Regions from separate parts of the Homo sapiens genome. Here region 2 is linked to region 1. Evidence: promoter capture Hi-C in 16 types of primary human blood cells and fetal thymus (Javierre and others, 2016). All regions are on one chromosome and are shown on one strand. Each heading gives the region's core, a stretch centred on a gene start or on the middle of the fragment in contact. The rest is flanking DNA. Distances are from core to core; before and after follow the strand shown.

Region 1 (6,266 bases), core at 945-3,444:
AACAAGTTCGACAAGTAGAGTTCATGAACAGCCAATTAATAGGAATGTTGTAGGAGAGAACTTGAGATTAAATGGATTTGGAAAGAGAGGCTATCCAGTTATAGGACAAATTCAAACAGGTTGAAAAAATTCTGTGAAGACAAATAAATTTCAAACGGTACTGCATAAACCATTCTAGTAATTAATAATTAGGAATGACAGGGCCTTTCCGAACAAAGATATACCGGCAGGCCAAAGCAGCACGCCGAAAAGCAGAGCAAACAGGGCGGTGAACCCAGAAAGTTTGTTTACTAAGCAGAGAGGATCCTCAGTCATGCACTGTAACTGTGACAGCAGTGTCCACCATAAAGTCTTCTCCAACTCTAATACAAAGGATAATACAGATAATAATGTCAAATTACCTGTTTAGAAACTAGTTTTTGCAGCTCAGAAACTGCTCCTTTCCCGCTCCACACTTCAAAGCTGTTTCCTAATTAGGATTAAAAATATGTATCACTTAAGTAAATTACTTACGCTATGAAATACAGAATAAAAAATACTTCAGTTTTGGTCTAAAGTATGTTTAGAAAGATCAAAAGAAGGGGAAAAATATAACTTATTCATATTTTAAATTTAAGTTACCTCAATTCTTTTGGAAAATAGTGTGATATGCATAAATGCTTAAATCCCCTAAACTTCTGAAATCTTACCAAACAGCAAAGTGATATCTATTTCGGAACAGTGTAACAAAGATGGTTAGCCCTAACTATCCTTTAATAGTCTATGCCAAAGTTTACTCCTCTGATTGATCGAGCTTCCTGTTACTCAAACTATGTAACAACCTCGTATATCCGATGATTTTAAAAATGTTTGCTCATTTAAAAGCTACTGTACTTCATAATAAAATAACCTCGTCACTACATAAATACCAGGTTTACCTTCAATTCAAAAACTCTGTATTATATTGGTGTTCAGGGGTCCTCACCAGGAAGGTGCTAGGGAAAGAAAGGAGCAGGTGCACCCGAGGCTCTGCAACACCCACTCCGGTAACCAGAGAACACCAGCAGGCGGAGTCTGGAAAGCGGTTATGGGGCGGGGGTGGTAGGGGCGCCCAGAAAGCCCGCTCCTTCCAGCGCCCAAACACGAACCGTCACCCGTAAGACACACAATACAGACCTCAACTCGCTCAAAAAAACAAAACAAAACAAAAAAAATTAAACCAGGCGAGTTCCTGGGGAGTAGGCTGAGGGATGCAAAGTTGGCGCGCCCAGCCTCCCTGGCGGGGCCTAATCCCCAAACGCCAGTTTCTGTAAACCAAACAACGTTTCCCCCAGTCCCACTTGGCATTTAGTCTTTCCCGGTTCTAGGCCCAATTCTAACTAGATAGGTAGGAAGGGAGAAAGAAGGGGCAATAATTACTCCATTAACCTTCCCAGGAACGCCTCCCCCGGCCCATCGGCTCCCACAGCACCAGAGACGGCGGAAATCCTGCAGCTCACAGCCCAACTGCAACTCTTCAGAGTCGCGTCGCTCCTCATCCGCCCTTCTACACCCCAAACTCTGGACACCGAGAGTTCCACAGAGGGAACGCGGGGAAGAACTATGGCCACCAAGGCCTGTTTCTCTAAGAACTCGACCCAGTGCCCCTAGCACCCAAACCAGAGTCCCCGCTCCGCTTCCTCCGCCCGCAAGGGGTATAGCCGGAGCCACCGGGACGCAGAACAGCCTCCCCGACAGGGCCAGCAGGAGGGGCGAGGAGGCAAGAAGGGAGTCCTGCAATCACCAACGCGTCGCGAGGTGCTCACCCGGGGATCCCGGCGATCAGTCCTGAGGGAGCGGGCGGACTGACCGCCTAGGGCACGGGAAGCCCGGGGCAGGAAGACCCGGGAACCTACAGAGGAGGCGTGGGCCCGTGGCCAGACCCAACAGGGCCGAGTGTCCCGGAGCCGTTACTCTCCCGCCTCTGGGGCGCGCCGCCCTAGGTTGCCAAGGGCTGGGGACGCGCAGGCATTACCTCTACAAGAAGCAGCCTCTCCTGTCAAAGGCAGAGCGACAGTCAGCCCCCACGACCCGCCGCCGGCAGCGGTCGGCCCTCGGAGACCGCAGCAGAGAGGCCCACACGTTTCCTGGCTGCCTCGGCCCCAGTGGCCGCCTTTTCGACCTCAGCTACGCAGCGCCAACCGCCGCAGCCACCGCCATCTTAGGATCTCATTGTGGTGGGAGAAGAGGGGCGGGGGTACTGCAGAGGGGGCAACGCGCGGCGGGACATGCGCCGTCTCCTCGGCAACGGCCGCGCGGGGGCGAGAACTCGCCCGGGCGGGAGCCGCAATGCGAGCTAGACTGGAGTCATGTGACCCGCCGGAGTCTGTGGTGTCGCTTCTGGCTCTTTAAGCCGAAAAGAGATTACACCAACGAATCCGCCCCCACCCGCCCAGGAACTATGTATCCCAGAATGCCAACTAGACCTCGCGTTCTAAACGCCTGCCGGCCACAGGTGGAGGACTACAAATCCCAGCATGCCGTGCGCTTCCGGCGCTGATCGCGGAGCGTGGGGCCCTAGGCCTATGCGGAAGTGCATTGATCCCTCAGCCCGTGGAGAAAGAGCGGAGGCGCTGTGCGGTTTTCCGTGGGGGTGTCAGCTCCGGCCCGTGCCGGAAGAAGGAGCCAAGACCGGGATCGCTTTTTTGCCCCTTCCTCACCCCACATTCGGTCACGAAGAGGTGGAAACAAAAGGACACTTACAATGTAGTCCAACCTCCTGATTTTACATATGAGGGGATTGTTCCACGGAAGTTAAACAATTTGCCAGACGTCATTATGTATCTACTGAGTGAGAGAATCATAAATATTGTTGATAGTTAACGCCACTTTTGGTTAATGTCCCTTTTCCTTAAAAGAGCCAGATGATTTTAATCCAAACTTAATTTCAGTAAATTTTCTCTGAACTATCTTTTTATTTATACTCTCCTGTTACAGCTCTATTAAGATTAATAAATTGGCAGGTCCTCCCTTTAAAAAACAAAAATCAATAAAGTCACAAGGCCTTCAATGTGCCTGACTGGAAAGGTAAAACACCTGTCAGTTTTAGTTGAGTGCAAGGGCATTCTTCTAGTTTTACGCAGTTTATAATTATGGAATAACTTTTTAAGCAAAATAAAGGTAAAAAGAAGAATTGCATTCTGGGTTTCAACAACAAAAACAAATTGTTCCCAAAATAGTAGGTCTGCATCTCAGTACGCAATTCACATAAAGCTCTTCTATCCCACTGCAATCTGCCACCGTAGGTTCAGTCGTGAGTGCATTGATCGTTGGTCAGACACTTTTTCCTCATATTCTGTGTGTGTATCGCTAACTACTGCGGTAGCAAAAATATAGTCCCTGCCCTTGAAGAGCTCATATTTTAGTGAAGGATGCGGAAGTGGAGTGTGATGTAAATAAAGTTTGTGTTGTAAGAAAAAGTGCTGTGGGAGCTCAGAACACAGCAGCTAAACGCTCAGGTGTTTATTGTAGTCCAGAATGCCCTATCCTAATTCCACCACTCCAAGATCCTGGACAAGCGACGTGCCTTTCTGAGCCTTAATTGCCCCATCTATGAAATGAGGGGGAAGGAATGATACTGCCTACCTTGAAAGGATTTTTTAAAAAATGTTCTCAGAGTTTGTTTTATGCCAGGCACACTGTAAAGCACTTCGGCTGTTGTGATTTTCTTGATCCTCACAGTTACCCTGAAGAGGCTGGTTCTGAATCTGACCCGTTTTGGCAATGAAAGATTATATAAATCAAACTTGTAGCAGCTGCAAGTGGTAGAGCCTAAATTTAAACGGAGGTCTATGTGATTCCTTTAAGATTTTTTTTAATTAAATACAACGCATATAAAAACACTAGTATATGTTGAGGCCCGAAATATTAGCTATCATCATTATTTTGCTTTATACATATGTATTATTATTAAACGTATGTAGAAGCTGTTATCATTAAAACAATTCTAATAAATTCAAAAGCGTGAAATTATAATACGTACTAGTCATTATGTTTTCTGAATTTATGAAGCTCCAGAATGTCAATACTATTGTTTATTAGGAGGTAGGAGGAATTTGAGAAATATTTACATTGAAATGTAGAAGCTGTTATCATTAAAACAATTCTAATAAATTCAAAAGCATGAAATTATAATATCTACTAGTCATGATGTTTTCTGAATTTATGAAGCCCCAGAATGTCAATACTATTGTTTGTTGGGAGGTAAGAGGAATTTGAGAAATATTTACATTGAAAAGGGGATCTCAAACTCAAATATGAGCATTACTGATCTTTGTAAGGGAAGAAGGAAAGAAAAAAAACAAGAAGCGATAAAATTATACCTGGCTTTCAGAAATTTAACATCTATTTTTAGAAACAAACTTTATCAGAATGAATCGACTTAGTGTTAATAGTCCGTCACTATGCCAAACAAATGATGTAGACACTGATTGCTGTGGTAATTTAGATTTTTAAAATAGGGATGTTTTGTCTCAGAGATAATGATAGCTCTAGGATTTATAGGTAGGATGAAATTAGGGGCAGCAGTCTGTGGAAATGTAGATAGGAAACAGAAGAATGGCCTCTAAGAGATAAACATTGAAACTGCCTTTCAGTTTTCCACATTCAAGAGAACAACCTAACACATGTATTAAATATGCAGGGGGTGGAAGTTCCAAATTGCAGAATGATGTTCAAGGAAGTGGGATATACCAAGAACACAGATCACACATCCAGAGTAAGCAATGGACAAAAAACAGACTGGCTGAAGTAGAGGATTTATATATGGTAAGTGATGGGGAGGTGGGAGAAGGCAAGGTTTATTACCAGGTTGGGGCCAAACTATAGAAAGTCAACTACTTATCTAAAGAGTGTGGACTTTGTTCTTCAGTTAGTGTGAAACCATTTGAGACTTTGGAAGAGGTCAATGCTGTAATGAAATGGTTATTTGAAGACTTCAATCTAGTGGCAATGTTTTGTAAAGACTAGGAAAAGAAGACAAGGAGAACAGGTGCCAACCTGTCATGAAGTAATGAAGGCTTGGCCTAAGGTAGTAGCAGGATGAATAAAGTAAGGGATTTAAATTTTTATTCACATAAACTAAATCAGTTGTTATGATGTGAAAATACTATTTCTGTTTCTTGATATTTGGTAGGACACTAACCAGGTGGTACTTATAAGATAACACAGCCGGGCACGGTGGCTCATGCCTGTAATCCCAGCACTTTGGGAGGCCGAGGCGCGTGGATCATGATGTCAGGAGTTCGAGACCAGCCTGACCAACATAGTGAAACCCCGTCTCTACTAAAAATACAAAAATTAGCCGGGTGTGATGGCATGTGACTATAATCCCAGCTACTCAGGAGGCTGAGGCAGGAGAATTGCTTGAACCTAGGAGGTGGAGGTTGCAGTGAGCCCAGGTCACACCATTGCATTCCAGCCTGAGCGAGACTCTGTCTCAAAAAAAAAACAAAACACTTGGTGCTATAATGTTTATCTCTTTAATGTATTCTGTATGCTCCTTATCCACAGATGGATTGTAAGCATGTCTGTAACAGAAATCCAGCCGTTTGTACTTTTTAATCTTTGAAAAACAAGTTTTCTGCAATACCTAGTTTTAACCTGCAGATGGTGACAGAACTTAAAGGAAAAATCTTCAGGGACAAATCCACTACTTTATAACTGCATGTTATTTGTTTTTATTATGTGATTTTTTGATACACCCAAAAGAATATATAACATACATGTAAACTCTATAGTACAATACTGACAACTGGGCGCATTATATGCCTGTAATCTCAGCTACTTGGGAGGCTGAAGCTGGAAGATCACTTGAGGCCAGGAGCTCCAGACCAGCCTGAGGAACTTAAGGAAACTGTTTCTACATACATACATACATGCATACATAAAGTACAATAACGAGCGAAACACTCAAGAACCCACAACCTAACTTTGAAAATAGAATTTAATCAAAACGTGTCTGGGTACAGTGGCTTATGCCTGTAATCCCAGCACTTTGGGAGCCCGAGGCAGTTGGATCATTTGAGGTCAGGAGTTTGAGACAAGGCAACGTGGCGAAACCCCGCTGCTACTACAACTACAAAAATTAGCCAGACGTGGTGGTGCGAGCCTGTAATCCCAGGTAGGTTGAGGCAGGACAATATCACTTGAGCCCGGGAGGCAGAGGTTGCAGTGAACCGAGATTGTGCCACTGCACTCCAGCCTGGTGACAGAGCAAGACTCTGTCAAAAAAACAAAAAAAAAAAAAA
Region 2 (6,064 bases), core at 2,499-4,998, about 20 Mb before region 1:
TCTGGCCTCTTGAAAACAATGCCTCGGTGGATTTTACCTCTGTGGTCTTAAACAAGGTGGGCTTTGTACTATGGTAACTTTACCTAGAAGGGTATATGGTGTGTTTCCTTGGTGGAAGGAAAAAAAGGAATGGATGTGCTCACTGATTTTTAAAACGTTTTCCATTGACATGGATGGTTTGGGTTTTGGATGAAGTGCGTTTCTGTGGATATGAAGCATAGTTGGAATGGTCACTCCTATTTTCCTGACACTGATTAAGGCAGCTAAAGGGGGATGAAGGCATAAACCAAAATTTGGATCATATAAGCACCATTTTCTGTCCAATTTTATTGTAGACCCTGGTCTTAATTGGAGAGAATTACAGGCATTTTATTTTTTGTCTCTGTTTTCCTCTCCTACTCAAACATTTCTTTTGTCATCTGACCATTCAGTCATGTTTCCTGGTAAAACCACACAAGTGAGTTTGAATTGTATTTGAATAGATCTTTTTGGTTGAGTTCCTAATTTGGGGGGTGAAAGTAGTAGGGGCATCCCCAGGTTACATGTAAAGAATTTCTATTATTATCCAGTACTTAAGATTGCTCCCATTGAGTAAGGGGAAGAACTTCTACTTTTACAGGGTGCATAAGAGCCACACAAACACACTTCATCTTAGGAAGCACTTGGAGAAAACTCCCAAGAAAGTCAGTGTTAGCAAAAATGGTTGATGGTGATGCTTGACTCTTATAGATGCGAGTATACCAAGATGTCTGCTCACCAAACTCACTTGCTTTTAATGCTTAGGAATATGTATATTCCAGTATTCCTTGTATGAAAATAATTAGTAATGTCAGACATTGTTGTAACACTGTACTAAGTAGAAGTCTAGGGTTAGCTTGAATGAATGTTAACTTTCTCTGTGAATTTTGACTGCTTACAATTGCTGGTACCTGGTAGCATTTATTTTCCCTCAAGTACCTAGTAACCTTATGAAGGTAGGGAGGGTAGATGCTCTACCACATTCCTTCAGCTGTATTGAGTGTTCCATTTGCTTATCAATTTAGAGCTCTTCTATGGAAAGAGGGTGAAAATCTGTTTTGTGCCTCTTTTTTTTGTATGTAAATGTGCAATTATACTGGATTTTCTCTTGTAAAAAACACTACAATTCTTTTACTGAAGCTCCTAAACTGCCATTTGCCTGACTCCAGCAATTAATTCTGCGGTGACTCATTGGGCTTCCAGTACTTCTGTTGATTAGATATGGTCCCAAAAGAAAGAGCAAAATGGAAAATGCGATCCATGTCACCAAATATAATTGCTACAAGTAACATGAAATACAGCTCACCAAAACACTAAACTTTGCTCTTGAGCAATTATATAGTTTGATGTCCTTTTAAAAAATAAGAAAAGCTAGGTTTTATCATACTAAAATTTTATTTTGTATATGATGTTTGGTTTTTTAAACTTACTAACATAAGGATTTCCTTTAATATTCCAAATACAGTTCTTGAAACAGTATCCAACATGAAATCTTATCTCCTTGCTTTTAGACTTAGTGCTATTTACTATCTAAAGACTTTTCTATGGTAAGCCAGGGTACATCCTATATACTACAGATACCTTAGGTTTCAGTATTTTTATGCAGCTTCTTCATTGTGTCACATTTTGTTTTCATATCTGTAACAGAGCTCTGCTGAAATTAAAAAAAAATTATGATTAATAGGATTGTTTCACCATTTCAGAAATCAGAGTAGAAAACAAAATAGCTGCCAGGTGCAGTGGCTCACACCTGTAATCCCAGCACTTTGGGAGGCCGAGGTGGGCAGATCATGAGGTCAGGAGTTTGAGACCAGCCTGACCAACATGGTGAAACCCTGTCTCTGCTAAAAATACAAAAAGGAGCCGGGCATGGTGGCACATACCTGTAGTCCCAGTTTCTCAGGAGGCAGAGGTTGCAGTGAGCCAAGATCACATCACTGCACTCCAGCCTGGGTGACAGAGCGAGACTCCATCTCAAAAAAAAAAGGTAACCATAGTTCTGAAGTCTTTGGCCATGAATGTTCTTTAATGGTCTAAAAAGCGGTTTTAGTCATGCTGGTGCCAAGGAGTTCTCCTCACACCTCCATAGCGTCAATGTTGACCTATTTGATATATTTTTAAGTTGCAGATTATAGATGCAGAAAGAGAAAATTGTCCTTTATGTGTGCATGAGTATACATGCACTGTGCCTGTGATACACCAATGAAATATTCCAAAAGACATTGCTCACTCATAGTCTGAAGTTGGTATTTGTTAACTTTTAAATCTATATGTGGTCAGAGTGTAAGTGGCTGGTTTTTATTCTTGTCCAACAATGAAATAACTTAAAGCAGCATGGGCTAATGGTGGTATTTTTTTTAACCACATGTTAATTTGTTGAAGGAAGAAGTGAACATAAGATTTTTGATAATCAGCCTAAAGCTTCAGAAACTGGATCAGTAAGAGCTAAAGATGAAATCCTGGGAAACTTTCTCAGGCACTGTGCAGGGGAGGGAGGGGCTGGACCGCCACTGCTGCGAGGGAAGAATCAGAAGAGCTGCCTGTGGCTGGCTGAGAAGGGCAAGGTGGATGGCTCTTCATTCCTGGAAGGCTGAAGCAGCCAGAGGCAGTGATTCACCTCTTTAATGTCTAATCAGGGAGAGATACAGGAGTGAGGTGGGTTTTATTTTCATTTTTGTTTTAACAAGTTCCCACTCTTATCTTAATTCTCAAAAATGATCTGGCCTCATCTATAGAACTGGCTGAGTTGGGGAATCATTTAAAATTTGGGATTTTCTGTACAAGTCAAGAACATATGTGAAAGCTAAAAAAGTAATGGAGGCAGGGGGACTGCTCCCAGCTCCCTTCTGCCATTTACACAAAATATTTGAAAACATGTCTGTAAATAACGTTGTGGAACTGAGATATTGAGTATCTAATCATGTAAAGGACCCTCAGATGGGACAGGCTATTGGACAACTTTCCTGGTTCATGAAGTGGAATTTCCTTTTTGAGTAGTTTCTTGCATGGTGTATTCCAATAGGTCAAACCCAGACCTACTGTTTGCAAACAGGCCATCTGTAGAGAATACAATCTCTGGACTGCCCAGGACTTGTTGCTTGTCTTTCATTTCATTTTAAATACAAAGCTCTTCCTTTAGCATTCACCTTGAAGTCAAGGTGTTGGCTGCCACATGCCATGTCCTCTTAACAAGATAAGAAAACAGTGGCTATGGAGCCCTCACAGCTGGGAAGCTGACATTCTATACTTCCATATGAGAAAAAGGACATTGGAAAGTTGCTTTATTTCTGGGCAGCGTAGACTAAAGTTACTTTTCACAAGGCTGATGCATCCAGCCTCCCCCAGTTGTCCAAGTTGGTGCAGACATGAATTGATGAATGGAAACACTTTCCTTTGGCCTAGGGCCACCTAGAATTGGTCTCTGGTTATTTGTAAAACAAAAAGTAGAACTTGCTTCCATTTTCAGATGGACTAGGGAATACTATAATTAGACAGCTTTGCAATGAATTAACAAATACTGAAAAGTTGGAAATGTGTATATACTGAAATCTCACCAACTTTTACCTGGGGTGGGGTACCAGGAGAAAGGGAACCCCCTTTCTCCTGGTAAAGGGTAAGGGGGGGGATAATGTTTACCACAGGTACGAAATAGTCACTTTAACATTGAGACCTCTGCCTCATTGAATTCAGGTTTTTTAAGTACTTGAAACTCTTCAGATTCTCCTTATTTTAGTTTCTTTTTACATTTATGAAGTAGAAAGCATTGTTTTGTAAACTGTTTTGAAAATAAATAGCCTAGTCTCTTATCCTCTTTAGCGTGGATTAAAGGTGAAGTTCTGCAAATGGGAGAGTGTTCACAGTAGATAGCTCAGATTGATTGAACACATTTGAGGAAGAGACTCCTGCATGAGATACCAGCATTTTTACAAATACTTTTTATGTACATTCTTTATTTTGTCATTTTGTCAACCCTCTCCCCAAGCACATCTTCTTTCCTTTTACTATGTCTATGTAGGGAAAAAAACAAAACAAAAAATTGCACTTACGTTACACTCCCAAAATGTGGGTAATCCGTGTCTTTCAAAAAACATTTCTGTTTTTTGTTTTGTTTTGGTCAGTCCATTGCATAAGTGACAAGTTTGGGTGCTTGTGGCACGTATGTATGAAGCGGGAGGGGGATGAGAATTGCCTGTCCTTCAGTAGGCTGTAAAAGTAATTTACATGTAAGTAAAAAGGGAAAATAGAATAGATGCCAAAGTCATTTATTCAGTCCTTAGTTTTCTTATGTGGCATTACTGCATCTGCTAGTTAGTGAGAAAGCACCCTCAGCTTTTACTGCTCCCCTCCCTGCCTGCCAACACACTTGATGTGTGCAAACAGCCCTCAAGTATCTGTCAGATGACCTATATAAGGTATTGAATAAGGTATTCTTGTCAGTTTAGAAATGGACTGGATAAAACTTACTTGGTTGTCATTATTTTATCTCATTTGTCCTGTTACATGCCCTATGTTAAGATAATTATATTGCCACTAATAATCAAGATGCTAAATGAGTATTACAACTGGCTAATATCATTTTTTATATACAAGGGTATGTGTATATTTGGAATTGATATGAGAAACTCATTTGTACCCATTTGAGTGATATTGCACAACAAACACAGATACCTACAGACTCCGTTTTCATTTTCTCGTGTTCTTTATGATAATGATCTTTGTAGATTGGTTATTTCTGTACTTTATCTGTAATAAACTTTGTAGATCCTGTGAACCATTACTTTGCCTAAATCACTTGAGACTTGAGTCTTTAATAACAAAGCATCAATATTCACTAAAGTCAATCTCTTTTGAGTTTCTGTGACTTGGCTAGAAGCTCTTGACACTAAGGGATTAGTGTTAATTTTCCCTGGGGGTGTTCCACTAGGGCATTACTGTATAATGACTTGATGTTGCCACATAGACTTCAAGATATATAATATTTTGAGGATTTTGTTGATTGGCCTATGTTTTATTGCATAGTGTGAAACGTGTAAAGCTTGGTTAACCTGTATATAGATAGCTTATTGTTGACTAGTTATAGTGTATTTAGGGTTGCCTGTAATATTTAAGCTTCTTTACTGATGTGTGTGCTGGTAGGAACATATAATTTTTGTACATTATATTTACTGAGATGTTGCCTTTTTTATTTTACAAATACTTTGGAATTCCAATGTGTTTTTTGCTTCCGTGAGGATTAATTTGGAAAGGTTTTTAATGACATTCCACTGATTTCAGATTTTGCTTGAGATTGACTTCAATAAATTGTCCTGTATGTTCCAAATTAAATATGTGGGCTTGTTCTTTGCCAATAATTTTTTGCTACAACACTCTGGGCAGGAGGCCATCCTGGGTGGGAGGACTAAATGACACAATCCAGCCAACCTCAGGTAGTGTAGCTTCCTGCAGAATGCGGCTGTGTTGCTAAGGAACGAGGATCTGAGAGCGGGCTGTTTGGTTTTCCATTTAGAGGCGAGGTCCCGGGAGAAGGCTGCTCCCCGCGGTGGTGTGGTTGGGCCGTGGAGACGAGCTGCTGATGATGGACCGTACGCCGACCTACTCGGCTGGAACTGGGGCGCTGGCTCCCTGCTGAACGCACCAGAGGGCAGCTCCGCTGGCTTTGCGTACCCTTTGCCAGACGATGCCCTCGGCACAGCCGCCAGGCCGTCTTCCTGGGGAGCCGCCGGAGCGCGGGCAACTGGGAGAGGGGGCGGTGCCCAGTTCCCGGCCCGGCCCTCCCCGCGGAGGTGGCCACGTCAGCGCAGCGTCGCTCGGAGCTCGCGGCCGGATGGGGAAGGCGGCGGCGGCGGTGGCCTTTGGGGCCGAAGTGGGCGTGCGGCTCGCGCTGTTCGCGGCCTTCCTGTAAGAAAGATCCACGGCCGGGCCCGGGCGGCCCCGCTTCCCAGGCAGGCGGGCGGCACGGGGCGGCGGGTCGGGCAGTGGGGAAGCGGGGAGGAAGCCAGGCGACCTGCTCTGCGCTTCTTTGTTCCCCTCTAGGGTGACGGAGCTG

What was found. The method cuts DNA at HindIII sites, captures the fragments that hold promoters and counts their contacts. A CHiCAGO score of 5 or more calls a contact.
Region 2: a fragment that was not itself captured here is called in contact with the fragment with the promoter of PCM1 in region 1 in 1 of 17 cell types (non-activated CD4 T cells); the score reaches 5.7 in non-activated CD4 T cells.

Annotation. Positions count from the first base shown.
Region 1 is chr8:17,918,916-17,925,181 of GRCh38, reverse strand. It overlaps PCM1 (pericentriolar material 1), which reads right to left and starts at 2,194. Exons shown (of 39, transcript NM_006197.4): 1 at 1,994-2,194; 2 at 402-469. LOC124901867 reads left to right here and starts at 195. Exons shown (of 4, transcript XM_047422505.1): 1 at 195-268; 2 at 955-1,025; 3 at 1,416-1,673; 4 at 1,836-4,154. The coding sequence starts at 195. The coding sequence ends at 2,518. RefSeq lists enhancers at 1,167-1,226, 2,377-2,826 and silencers at 1,688-1,982, 4,708-5,002. The HindIII fragment of the contact is 6,694 bases long and covers 1-6,266 here.
Region 2 is chr8:38,268,978-38,275,041 of GRCh38, reverse strand. It overlaps NSD3 (nuclear receptor binding SET domain protein 3), which reads left to right. Exons shown (of 24, transcript NM_023034.2): 24 at 1-5,338. It overlaps PLPP5 (phospholipid phosphatase 5), which reads left to right and starts at 5,818. Exons shown (of 7, transcript NM_001102559.2): 1 at 5,818-5,916; 2 at 6,052-6,064. The coding sequence starts at 5,843. It also overlaps a transcript of DDHD2 not described here. RefSeq lists a silencer at 5,620-6,064. The HindIII fragment of the contact is 2,614 bases long and covers 2,442-5,055 here.